Linked DNA regions of Homo sapiens: regions 1, 2 and 3 are each linked to region 4. Evidence: promoter capture Hi-C in 16 types of primary human blood cells and fetal thymus (Javierre and others, 2016). All regions are on one chromosome and are shown on one strand. Each heading gives the region's core, a stretch centred on a gene start or on the middle of the fragment in contact. The rest is flanking DNA. Distances are from core to core; before and after follow the strand shown. Region 1 overlaps MRPS21 (mitochondrial ribosomal protein S21). Region 2 has its middle 25 kb from the start of ANP32E. Region 3 overlaps CA14 (carbonic anhydrase 14). Region 4 holds the start of VPS45 (vacuolar protein sorting 45 homolog).

Evidence for each region. Contacts are between HindIII fragments. The CHiCAGO score rates a contact against its expected background, and 5 or more counts as called.
Region 1: a fragment that was not itself captured here is called in contact with the fragment with the promoter of VPS45 in region 4 in 2 of 17 cell types (naive CD8 T cells and total B cells); the score reaches 5.3 in naive CD8 T cells.
Region 2: a contact is called between a fragment that was not itself captured here and the fragment with the promoter of VPS45 in region 4, in 17 of 17 cell types (megakaryocytes, erythroblasts, neutrophils and 14 more). The highest score is 21.8, in megakaryocytes.
Region 3: a fragment that was not itself captured here is called in contact with the fragment with the promoter of VPS45 in region 4 in 12 of 17 cell types (naive B cells, neutrophils, total B cells and 9 more); the score reaches 10.3 in naive B cells.

Annotation. Positions count from the first base shown.
Region 1 is chr1:150,299,376-150,302,607 of GRCh38, reverse strand. The region is part of intron 2 of MRPS21 (mitochondrial ribosomal protein S21); the gene reads right to left. Among named protein-coding and RNA genes, the nearest start is that of MRPS21, 7.1 kb to the right of the region's middle. The HindIII fragment of the contact is 1,328 bases long and covers 679-2,006 here.
Region 2 is chr1:150,209,261-150,212,442 of GRCh38, reverse strand. It overlaps the pseudogene RN7SL480P. Among named protein-coding and RNA genes, the nearest start is that of ANP32E, 25 kb to the left of the region's middle. The HindIII fragment of the contact is 5,688 bases long and covers 1-3,182 here.
Region 3 is chr1:150,262,440-150,265,560 of GRCh38, reverse strand. CA14 (carbonic anhydrase 14) reads right to left here. Exons shown (of 11, transcript NM_012113.3): 5 at 2,941-3,036; 6 at 2,691-2,757; 7 at 2,362-2,519; 8 at 2,142-2,262; 9 at 1,882-1,902; 10 at 1,683-1,767; 11 at 483-968. The coding sequence ends at 902. It overlaps APH1A (aph-1A gamma-secretase subunit), which reads left to right. Exons shown (of 7, transcript NM_001077628.3): 7 at 1-157. Among named protein-coding and RNA genes, the nearest start is that of SNORD13C, 2.3 kb to the right of the region's middle. The HindIII fragment of the contact is 1,864 bases long and covers 350-2,213 here.
Region 4 is chr1:150,066,149-150,069,426 of GRCh38, reverse strand. VPS45 (vacuolar protein sorting 45 homolog) reads right to left here and starts at 1,651. Exons shown (of 15, transcript NM_007259.5): 1 at 1,477-1,651; 2 at 663-797. The coding sequence starts at 1,569. It also overlaps a transcript of OTUD7B not described here. RefSeq lists an enhancer at 1,695-2,024 and a silencer at 2,235-2,474. The HindIII fragment of the contact is 1,692 bases long and covers 1,333-3,024 here.

The DNA of each region.
Region 1 (3,232 bases), core at 93-2,592, 230 kb before region 4:
TGCCAGTTTTAGTGAAATTCAAATGATTATGTAAAAGGAGCCAAGCTGCCTGGAGCGGGGGGAGGTGCGGGTGGCAGACTCACATGTCAGTGTAGCCAGTCTACGTCAGGACAGACGTGTATGCAGAAGGACTCAATGGACCCAGAAGGTAGCCCACTAGGAGTAAAAGGAGTCAACAGGGCATGCTTCCAGTGTACTCACCTTTCTTTGCTTGGGGGCCAGCCAATCATGCAGGGCTTCCTAGCAACCCCCACTCTCCACCTTCTCATCCCGGGGCACCAATGAGGGCCCCCAGTTATATAACAGGCATTTTGTGGTGGCCTCACTGGACAGACACGTAGGCTATTTCCTTTGTAAGACTCTCTCTGTACTCCAAACATGGTAAAGCTTTAATCACCTCCCTCTAGACTCATTTGCTCTCCTACCTATTGTTGTAATTAGACCACAGAACAAGCAAATTATTTTTAAACTACCAGCTATGAGAAAGCTGAAAGAGATCAGGAGAGGCCTGGAGTGTGAGAAAGATATACAGAAAAAGTGGCTAGAGAGAGGACATTTGGGAAAAGCAGAGAAAAAGAAGAAACAGAAAAGTGCATCAGTCAGAAAATGTGTTTAACAGGCAGCAGGAAAACAGAAGATTGGATCACTCCAAAATCAGTCTGCTCACGTATGCAAGCTTGAAAGTCCTTACCTAGAAAATTATTCTAAGAGGCCGGGCACGGTGGCTCACCCCTGTAATCCCAGCGCTTTGGGAGGCCGGGCGGGCCAATCATGAGGTCAGGAGTTTGAGACCAGCCTGGCCAACATCGTGAAACCCCGTCTCTACTACAAAAAATTAGCCGGACGTGGTGGCAGGTGCCTGTAATCCCAGCTACTCGGGAGGCTGAGGCAGGAGAATCACTTGAACCCGGGAGACAGAGGTTGCAGTGAGGCGAGACCACGCAGTCTGGGCAACAGAGAGAGACTCCGTATTAAAAAAAAAAGAAAGGAAAAAGAAAATTATTCTAAGACTGAAATATTTGTTCATTTCCCCCCTGCCCCGCGAAGCTATAATACAATTTATGGGACTCTGAGTCTATGGGACTTGAATTTCTTTTCCTTTTTTGAGACGAAGTCTCGCTCTCGTCCCCCAGGCTGGAGTGCAATGAATGGCGCGATCTCGGCTCACTGGAACCTCCGCCTCCTGGGTTCAAGCGATTCTCCTGCCTCAGCCTCCTGAGTAGCTGGGATTACAGGCACCTGCCACCATGTCCGGCTAATTTTTTTTCTTTTGAGACGAAGTCTCGCTCTCGTCCCCCAGGTTGGAGTGCAATGGCGCCATCTTGGCTCACTGCAAGCTCCGCCTCCCGGGTTCACGTCATTCTCCTGCCTCAGCCTCCCGAGTAGCTGGGACTATAGGCGCCCGCCACGGCGCCCAGCTAATTTTTTGTATTTTTAGTAGAGACGGGGTTTCACTGTGTTAGCCAGGATGGTCTCGATCTCCTGACCTCGTGATCCGCCCCCCTCAGCCTCCCAAAGTGCTGGGATTACAGGCATGAGCCACCGCGCCCGGCCAATTTTTGTATTTTTTTTAGTAGAGACAGGGTTTCATCATGTTGGCCAGGCTGGTCTTGAACTCCTGACCTCAGATGATCCACCCGCCTCGGCCTCCCAAAGTGCTGAGCTTACAGGGGTGAGCCACCGCGCCTGGCCAAATTTATTTTTCTAACCACTCCTCTTCTTTCTTAAAAAGAAAAGAATATAATTCTTTTCTTTTTAAGCAATGTAAATTGCTTTTTTCCAAATCCTACTCCTACTTTGGTGTTTTAATCCCTGAAGAAAAGGTAATACTGTGCTTCTTAACCAGGGTAATTAACAGAATGCCAAAGGATACAAGTTTCTGGACAAATTTGATGCATCTGCCTGGAGGCACCAATTTTAACTCGAAGGAGTGGGGGTGTTACCCATAAAACAGATGCAATGGCAACGAATACGAAGTTCACCTTACATTTTAATTTAGGGAAGCTTCAAAGAAATTCCATGTTTGCTTATAGTAGCAGAACCCCTATAGTTCATTCACTCTCCTCTGCTGTTAACGACACTTCAGTAAAAAAGTTTGACAAACATTAAATAAGTGACAAAAAAGATAAAGGAACATTTATGTTCATTAAGTAGACATTTAATGAGAGCTTTGGATGTGCCAGACACTTTGGTAAATCCAAGAGATACACAAATGAAAAAGCATAGGTTTCTGTCCTTAAGGAGGCTACAAGCCTTTTTTTTTTTGAGACAGGGTCTCACTTTGTCACCCAGGCTGGAGTGCAGTGGCGCGATCTCGGCTCACTGCAACCTCCAGCTCCCAGGTTCAAGCGATTCTCCTGCCTCAGCCTCCCGAATAGCTGGGATTACAGGTATGCACCATCATACCCGGCTAATTTTTATATTTTTAGTAGAGACGGGGTTTTACCATGTTGGCCAGGCTGGTCTTGAACTCCTAACCTCAAATGATCCGCCCCCCTCAGCCTCCCAAAGTGCTGGGATTACAGGCATGAGTCACTGTGCCCAGCCAGGAGGCTACAAGTCTATTATAATAATTTTCAATCCTGGTGAAATCTCATGGTATGTTTTTTAAAATGCTGCCATCCAGGTTGCAACCCCTGGAGATTCTGATTCATCTCAGATTGGGCCCTGGCATTAGTTTTGTTTTCTTGATGGTTCGTTCCCTAGGTGATCCTAATAGGCAGCCAGGGTTGAAACCACAGGGTGTCACACTGACCACTCTCCGGCTCTCTAATATTAACACTTCGACCCAGGAAATAGGTTTGTGTAAAATGCCAGTCACCAACAAAAAGAGAACCATAAAAGTAGTATGTGGGCTGGGTGTGGTGGCTCACACCTGTAATCCCAGCACTTTGGGAGACAGAGGCGGGTGGATCACCTGAGGTCAGGAGTTCGAGACCAGCCTGGCCAACATGGTGAAACCCCGTCTCTACTAAAAATACCAAAACTAGCCAGGCGTGGTGGCAAGTGCCTGTAATCCCAGCTACACGGGGGGCTGAGGCAGGAGAATCACTTGAACCTGGGAGGCGGAGGTTGCAGTGAGCCGAGATCATGCCACTGCACTCCAGCTTGGGGGACAAGAGCGAGACATCGTCTCAAACAAACAAACAAACAAACAAACAAAAAACAGAAAAAAAAACAGGAAAAGCAAAAACTGAGTGTTGATTAAATTAAAAATATAGTGGCTGGACAA
Region 2 (3,182 bases), core at 564-3,063, 140 kb before region 4:
TCTTCTTTTAATTAGGACAACTAAATTATAGTTTGTTAGAAGTGTCTTAAACTATTGAAGAAAAACTGTCATCAAATTATACTTTTTTTGTGTGTGTGACAGAGTCTCGCTCTGTTGCCAGGCTGGAGTGCAGTAGCACGATTTCGGCTCATTGCAACCTCCGCCTCCTGAGTTCAAGCGATTCTCCTGCCTCAGCCTCCAGAGTAGCTGGGACTACAGGCGCGCGCCAACACATGGTGAAACCCCATCTCTATTAAACATACAAAAATTATACGTTTTATTGGCATCAGTCACTTTTCAGAGAATATTTGCTTCACTTTTTCTTGTGCAACCAAAAGATGTCTTTGATCCTATGGAAGGAGAAGAGAATAATTAAATTTGAAATCTTGTATACACAATTTTTATTAAAATGTCAAAGGACAGTTACATGTTTCTATAGAATTAGCATATGTATATATATACGCTCTATCTATCTATCTATCTATCTATCTATCTATCTATCTATCTATCTATCTAGAGAGACAGGGTCTGTTACCCAGGGTGGAGTGCAGTGGCTATTCACAAGCACGATCCTGCTACTGATCCGCACGGGAGTTTTGACCTGCTCTATTTCTGACCTTGGCCAGTTTACCCCTCCCCTTAGGCAACCTCGTGGTCCCCTGTTCCTGGGAGGTCACCATATTGGTGCCGAACTTAGTGCGGACACGCGATCGGTATAGCACACTACAGCCCAGAACTCCTGGGCTCAAGCCGTCTCCTGCCTCAGCCTCCCAAGTAGCTGGGACTACAGGCACGGGACACCGCGCCTGGCAAAGTTAACAAATATTTAACTGCAGTAAAACTAATGTCAGTAGTTTCTCAGGCATTTTCATTGGCTTTTACAAAGTCACAAAATTGGGTAAAATGAGGGCCATTTACTTTATTTAAAAAAAAGAGGCCGAGCGCTGTGGCTCACGCCTGTAATCCCAACACTTTGGGACGCCGAGGCAGGTGGATCACAAGGTCAGGAGTTGGAGAGCAGCCTGGCCAATATGGTGAAACCTCGTCTCTACTAAAAAATACAAAAATTAGCCGGGCATGGTGGCACGTGCCTGTAATCCCAGCTACTCAGGAGGCTGAGGCAGGAGAATCGCTTGAACCTGGGAGGTGGAGCTTGCAGTGAGCCAAGATCGCGCCACTGCACTCTGGCCTGGGCAACAGAGTGAGACTCTGTCTCAAAAAAAGAAAAAAAAAAAAAAAAGAGATGAGAATATTCTTGGATTTTAAGAAGCCAAGATTTTCTAGTGGGTAATAGCATTTCTCAGAAAAGACTTTTTCTTTTAACAGACTAAATATTTAGGAAAACTTTTTTTCTTATATTGAGGGATTGTATTTTCAGCATTGTTTCGATGTTGCCGCAATATTTTAAAAAATACTTATTAGCAGGTGGAGATGATGTGAATTTGTTGTTTACAACCCGTAGGATATTGAAGAGCTACCTGCTGAGAGAGGAGCTGCTACCATCTGGTCTCTGCTATGAGGCCAAAGCACTACATTGGTCCCATGATAAACCTACTTTTCTTTTTGTGTCATTTATTTTCCTTTCCACTGCTATTCTATATCAGCCTTGAGGTTGCTATTGGAGTTGAGGGACAAATAAGAGGTCATATAATGTAGGCCATCGCATAATGATGAAACATCAATTCTGTGGTCTGTCTCTAAGGCTCTGTCCTTGATAATAAAATACAGTGTGCTGTAATGGTTATCAAGTTTCCACTCCATATTATTAGGTTATTAGCTATTAATTAGATATCACTTGCCATTTTTACTTTACATGACTGTAAATAACTGCTGTCTTTCAGATCTTCATGTACTCAATCTTTACAAGCGGTTTGCAATTAACATATTAAGAAAAAAACCATGGAGAATTATGTGCAAATCCTTTTCAAGGCAAGCAGTCTTACAGCTATGATCAAAGGCATAAAATGTAGAATATTTAACAAACTTTTAAAATCCTTTGTTTAAGGAACATAAGTGATAGGAAAACAAATATGAATGATACCAACTCTATCCCTTGAAAAACAGCCTAAACCCAAGATTATAAACCAAGAGCGAAATTGCAGGCAGAGAAATGGCTGAGCTGACAGCTTGTGCCCAGAAAGCTCAGAAGATGCCAAAACTTTGATTTGCTCACTTCAGTGAAGGCGTGATCCTTCATTTTGCAGGGCTATAGAAGGAGATGTATTTGAGTTTGTAAATACAAAATCGATCAATATGTGAGGGACAGACTTGTGCCGTGAAAATTCACCAAAGTCAGATTTCTAAATCAAGTTGTCAATTTATTAATTTACAGGGAGAATGTATATTTACATTGTTTATGGTATTATTGTTCAGTGTTCTAAATTGGCGCTCTTTAATAGACATATAATTCTGTCAAAAATGCAAGTTGGTGGAGTGCGGTGGCTCTCACCTATAATCCCAGCACTTTGGGAGGCCAAGGCGGGTGGATCACCTGAGGTCAGGAGTTGGAGACCAGCCTGGCCAACATGGTGAAACCCTGTCTCTACTAAAAACACAAAAATTAGCCAGGCATGGTGGTGGGTGTCTGTAATCCCAGTTACTCGGGAGGCTGAGGTAGGAGAATTGTTTGTGCCTGGGAGGCAGAGGCTGCAGTAAGCCAAGATCGAGCCACTCTACTCCAGCCTGGGTGACAGAATGAGACTCTGTCTCAAGAAATAAATAAATAAATAAAATAAAAATGCAAGTCACAGATGTATTTAGAATTTTCTAGTAGACATATTTAAAAAACTAAAAAGAAACAGGTAAAATTAATTTTAATGTATTTTAATTAACCCAACATATTCAAAATATTATACTTTCTACATGTAATCAATGTAAAAAATCATTAGTAAGATGTTTTGTATTTTTTTCATGCAAAGTCTTCCAAATCTGGGATGGATTTTATGCTTACAGCAAATCTCAATTCAGATAGCCACTTTTCTTTCTTTCTTTTTTTTTTTAACAGAGTTTTATTTTTATTTAGTTACTTTCTTCTTCTTTTTTTTCTTTTTATAAAGATAGGATCTCACCATGTTGCCCAGGCTGGTCTCAAACTCCTGGGCTCAAGTGATCCTCCCTCCTTGGCCTCCCAAAGTGCCTGGATTAGCCACATTTCAAGTGCAGTAGTCATGTTGCTAGGTGAA
Region 3 (3,121 bases), core at 32-2,531, 200 kb before region 4:
GTAGGGAAGGAGGGGAGATTTTTTTGTAGTTTTTAATTGGGGTGTGGGAGGGGCGGGGAGGTTTTCTATAAACTGTATCATTTTCTGCTGAGGGTGGAGTGTCCCATCCTTTTAATCAAGGTGATTGTGATTTTGACTAATAAAAAAGAATTTGTAATTGTGGGGGAACTTGGCTTTTAAGGGAGGGGATAGCATGTTAATTGAGATTTCTGTCCTCAGATCTCTCATCCAGCCACTTTCCTAACCTGGCAACCACTGATTTCCAAGCATAGCCTTGGTGCAAGGGCAGAAATCTGGGCTAGTGGTTTAACATGTCTGAAACTTTGGGTTAAGTGTCTTCCCAGAAGCTTATCTTTCCTTCCAGGGGTGGGATAAAAGGAGTTAATCACCCATGCTTCTTTTCCCCATCCTTTGCCCATCTTTACCACCTGAGGGATTCAGGAACTTGCCCACCCTCAAGAGCCTCAAAGGATAGGCCAGAATTAAAGTCAGAAACTTTAATTTCCAAATATATTGATCAAAAATATACAACTTCAACAGCAACTCTTTATCCTAAGGAGAGATCCCGCAGTATATCTAGGGAAAGGGCCATAAAAGTGAGGGGGTAGAGGACTTTGGGGTATATCCCAAACTTCCCCTGCAACTAAACAGAGTTTGTTCTCTGCATTAACAACACAGCGATTTCCTCATTTCCTCCTACATGTTTGGAGAGGCTGAAGGCTCTGCAGTTCTTCCTGGAATGACAGCCTGGGTCCATTCCTCTCTAGGAGATGTCCAGGGGAAGGAGGACATCTGCTTACTACTCCTACAGTGTTTCTGGCCAGATCCTACACCCCATTTTAGAGGCTTCCTGATAGGCATGAAGGGAAGTCATCCACATCCATGGTATCTGAGAAGGAATTTATGCCTCAGTCGTGGCTTGTGCTGAGGTGAAGACCACACTCTTTCGGTTTTCCAGCCTCTTCTTCCTGGAAAGGGGAATGGCTCATGAGAATGACTGCTATCTAAGTGAAGCAGATTAGAGGTGAAATAGGAGAATGCTTTTTAACAGAAAAGAGGGCTGGGCAAGGTGTTTCACACCTATAATCCCAGCACTTTGGGAGGCTGAGGCGGGCGGATCACTTGAGGTCAGGAGTTGGAGACCAGCCTGGGCAATGTAGTGAAAACCCGTCTCTGCTAAAAATACAAAAATTATCTGGGCATGGTGGCACATGCCTGTAGTCCCACCTACTCAGGAGGCTGAGGTGGGAGGACCACTTGAGCCCGGGAGGTGGAGGTTGCAGTGAGCTGTGATAAAGCCATGCACTCCAGCCTCGACAACAGTGAGAACCTGTCTCAAAAAGCGGGTGGCTCATGCCTATAATCCCAGTACTTTGGGAGGCTGAGGCAGGCGAATTGCCTGAGGTCAGGAGTTTGAGACCAGCCTGGCCAATATGGTGAAACCTTGTCTCTACTAAAAGTACAAAAATTAGCTGGGTGTGATGGTGCGTGCCTGTAGTCCCAGCTACTCGGGAGGCTGAGGCAGGAGAATTGCTTGAACCCAGAAGGCAGAGGTTGCAGTGAGCTGAGATTGCACACCACTGCACTCCAGACTGAGTAACAGAGCAAGACTCCGTCTCCCACCTACCAAAAAAAAAAAAAAAAAGAAGAAGGGACTGGAGGAATGGAAAGTAGGGCCTCACCGAATCTTTCTAGCAATGAAATAAACAGCCAGGAGAAGGCAGAGACAGCCAACCAAGATTCCTACACCTAGACTCAGCATTTCACCTGGGGGAGATAAAGGTAAAAGGTGTCAGCCTAGGACTAACATAGATTTTGAGCCTTTCCCCCACTCGGTGAGGACACCTCCCCTCCCCGCATTATCTTATAAGGCTGGCTTACCTGTGGTATACGAGGATCCTGCTGTAAGAGAAGAAAATGGGTCAGTGGGACTTCAGATCCCCATCCCAGCTGGGAGCAGCACTCTCTGCTGCTGTGCCTGGGAGAATCCCCCGGGGGCACCCTGGGGTGGGGGTTGGTTCCCAGTCCAAGCAAGTCCCAGAAACCCCCTCCCCTTTTAGCCTTTTCTTCCCATTGGCTCCCTAGTTCCTGCCATTGTGTCCCCCTCAGTTTCCCATCTCTTCTGAGCCGTGCAGAATCACCTTGGATGAAAGAAGCAAAGACCATGCGCTGATTGAGAGGCTGAAGGGCTCGGTAGTTCTGTACCAGAAGCTTAGAGGGCTCCTCTTCTGTGGAGAACAATGTCCCCTGAAGCTTTTCCAGCTGAGGAGCAGAAGCGTGGGAGAGGTGTTACTTTGGGGAGTGGGAAGGGGTCTGAAGTTACAACTGTGTCTCACCTCACCTCGTTTCTCCACCACTTACCTGTTCCATTGAAATCTGGGACCTTCTATAAAAAACTGTCCAGAGCACACTCTGGTAGCAAGGGGGAGTTGTGAGCGAGCCATTGTAGCGGAAGTACTGCCCCAGCTGTTTGGGGAGCAGCTCTCTTAGGTTGAAGGGAGGCACTGAGGTCTTCTGATCTGGGGAGAACAGACTGGGACTCATCTTCCTTTCAGTGTGCCCTAGCTTACCTAGATAGGGCTCCCAGAAGCAAAATTCCTTGGCTCTATGTAATTGCTTCATCCCAAGGCTTTTAAGGATAGTTTTTGAAAGTCTAATCTTACTTCCTGCTATAGATTTTTAAGGCTCACCTTTATGCCTGACTTCATGCAAGTGACTCAGAATGTGTTCATAAGCTATATTCTTAGTCTCACCCACCTGGAAGAGAAGGAAAGGGAGAGAGTTTGGAATGAGTCCATGTTTGGAATAAGAAATTTATGTACAGAATAAATGGTCAGGGTGGGCTGCTGCCTGCCATAGGAAGGAGGCCAGCAACAGAAATAGGTTTGAGGGTTGCAGAGGAAGTGGAGAGAAACCTGGAAGGGACTGGGGGCTACTGACCTCAATTAGGATGCCCAGGACAGCCAGGCCCTGAGGCCTCTCAGCAGCCTCACTCAAGCTGTCATAGGAATCAGAGTCATAATGTACAATGTGGAGCTAAAGGAAGGAAGAGGGAATTGAATCATGGAATGTCTGCACCCCCTTCAAGGCCTTGATCCTAGCTGCCACCATCCCCCCGCTG
Region 4 (3,278 bases), core at 402-2,901:
TTTAAAGGAGAGACTCAAGCTAGATTTAGAAGATGATGGATAAAAAGTGACAAATGGCCAAAGAACTTTTAATCAGTGCAAGAAAAAAAAAACAAGGAACAGGAATGAGCATGTAGAATTGCTCATTCCAACAGTAGCCTAGCTGGCTATAGAGGAGAAGCAGACCTAGGACATAGGAAGGCTGGATACACATGGGCAGATCAAACCAACAAAGTAGGGCTTTAATGGCTGGGCTAAATATAGATTTAATCATGGAAGTAACATCAAGCCACCACAGGTTCCTGAGCATAAATGTGAATAAAGTGGCAAAGATTCAAGACACTCATAGCTGTATATAAAATTAAGTGTTGATGGTGTTCAATGTGACAGATACGGAGGTTAATCCAGGAATAAAGTAATGTGGGTCTCCGTTAAGAGTAGTTCATTAGTGGCAATGGGAATGGCTGTGAACCTAAAAAACATCTTGAAGGAAGAACTGGCTGTAAGGGGTCAACTGAAATATGGAAACAAAACAAGAAAAATGAAGGTTATAACACTGATGAACCAGGATAATTATGATGCCACAAATTATGATAATACAAATTTATTTTGCCTTCTTAATGCTTTCAGATCAGAGTGTTCTGCATCTGCCTGGGCAGATGGAAGCTCAGTTTATGCAGTACCTTTGTAGGTCGAAGAAAACAAATTGCCTTCAGGTGTTTCATGATCTCTCGATTTTGAGAATCAATGCGTTCAAAGAGGTACACTTCCTTCTGTAGAATCTCCGATTGTGTGTATACCATACTCACTATGCCAGTCTGTAAAAACAAAAGATTAACTAAAAGTATGCTAGTCTAGAATAATAAAAACAAGTAGCACATCTAACCCTCTTTTTTCATTAATACTTAGCTGGATAACTTAAATAGTAATATACGGAAAACATTTACTGAACATCCAAACAGGTAGGTAACATACGAGAATGAAAAATACGCTCTATCCTTTCAGCTGAAGCTTCAAGATTAAAAACAAAAAACATGGTCTCTTTGAACAGGAACAATCCATAAGTTTCCAAAAATATTTTTTTCTATCACCTTAAAGAGTTTTGTTTTCTGGTCTGTGGCCAACAAATAATCTGTCATTTCAGCTTGAGCTCCAACAGCTTTACTTTAAAAACACAATGTTGAGTGGAAACAGTAGGCCCATCCCAAAGCCTTCCAAGTGCTCTGACATATTAATGATTTCTTGGCGGGGACATTTAGAAAAGGATTTCTGATTCCAATAAATTGTTCCGGGTAGAAGTAGTCTCTAGGCAGTGGCTGGAGCCATGTAGACTGAAAACCCACCGGGCAAGCTTTATATAAACAACTTTTCAATTCCACACAAACCGACCCTCATTTTCGTATGTTTAATTAAATGCTAAGTCCTACAGTGGAATGGGACGAGCAATTGTAAGGTTGAGAGGGTTCCTTCACAAATGCTGAGCAAAAGCAAACTCACCGTCTCTTTATCCATGAGAAGTACTTTCATACCAGGCCCGCTGTCCTCTATCATTTTGGAAATGTACTGCTTCACAGCAAAAACCACGTTCATGGCGGCGAATTGACAAGTACCCTACAGCCCTTCCCGCCCCCTTTTCTGGCTAAATTAACCCCCAGTCTGTTGGCCGGGTCTCAGCTGCTTCCTCCCAGCCGGGATTCGGCTTCCGGGAGTCCGGGCAGCCACGGTGCTGGGAGTTGTAGTTCCGCTGGAGTGTACAGGGGACCAAGCCTACCCCGGGGATGGAAAAATCCGGCTGAGACGGCCTGGGCCGCTGCCACGCGCGGGCGTTATTCTCCACCCACCTGCGGCCTGAAGATGCCTGAGGCCCGGACTCTCAGACCCCTATTGCCCTTTGGTGCTGGAGGCCCAGCGGCAGCCTGAAGCCCAAGAGAGTGGAGCCTCGCGAAATGAGGAACCTGGCACAAGGTTTGCTTGGAAGCAGGAACGACGGAGTGTGGCTACGTGCCCTATTTGCCATTAACGCTTTCTTGCATGGCAGTGAGAGATGAGGGCAAGGGAGGTGGCATAATGCTCCCGGCCGCTTGGGACTCGGAGAGACGGCATTTAATAAATCACACGCGGTATTTGCGAAACAGTGGTCGAGATTCGTCTTCCCGGGTTCATTGCGTCATTAATAGGCGGGAACAGTGCCCCTGTGTTGAGGCTGCAGAGGCCCTAATTGGTTTTCCCAAGACAGAGGGGCATATGAGATTGAACAAATATTTGTTGAATGAATGAACAAAGGGAACGCCTTTTAGGGATGTTTCTGGGGGAAAGGCCTGAGGTTCTCCAGGAGGGTCTGCAGCTAGGGTCGGCCGTGGGGGCTCGCAGCCCGCGGGACCACCGGACCTGCAAGCGTCCCCCTGCCCCGCCCCCGCCTCGGCGCTCTGAGCAATTGGACTCTGCCAGCTCTAACTCCGGCGGGACTCTGAAACTCAGGCAAGAGCCGAGGTGACTGGGTCCTTTGAAATGGGTAGGGGACACGTATCCGGTAGAACTAAAACTAGCGTGGGGATTTGAAGCCAAAACTCTCAAGTTTTTACTGAATCTTAAAACCATCAACTTCCAAATGTCTGCATTTGTCTTTACACCACACAGGTCTCCCCTCTATCATGGCATTTGTCGAAAAGGAGGGTAGATGTTTGTTTTTCGCACCTTTACTTTGGGGAATTGTAAAATCAGGAAGATAATAAGAAACAATTGTTAGAAATCAGTAACTAAAAATGCTTATGAATATTTCCACCAAAATAATGACCAGTGTTTGTGAGGTCAATAGATTCAGGATTACCAAATAAATTCTTTCATTATATTTTAAGAAGTACACAGTTAAAATAGACCAATAGCACTTTAACATTAATCAGCTTAAGATTATGCAATATTATATATAATTCTCAAATCCCTTAAGGGAGATCAGAAACTACTGAAATATAAGAGATTTTTGTCACCTCTGAAATTGTGAAGAATATGTTTTTTTTCTTTCAGCTTTTCTACCAAGTAAATAAAGCTTCCCTTTAGGCATTTTACTAATTTTTAGATGTGTTTTGAAAGAAAAGTCTTAAGTTATATATTAAAGTGAAAATGTGAATCTTTAAATGGATACAAGAAATGTTATATGAACATTCCATTCTTATCAATTTAAATGTTCGTATCTTACAGAAAACATGGAAACAACGCTAATGAAAATCCTGTAAATCCTGTAAATTACTGATATTTGAAAATTCACTGCCAATCTCCTATGTCACTTGGTTTTTATTTTTCTT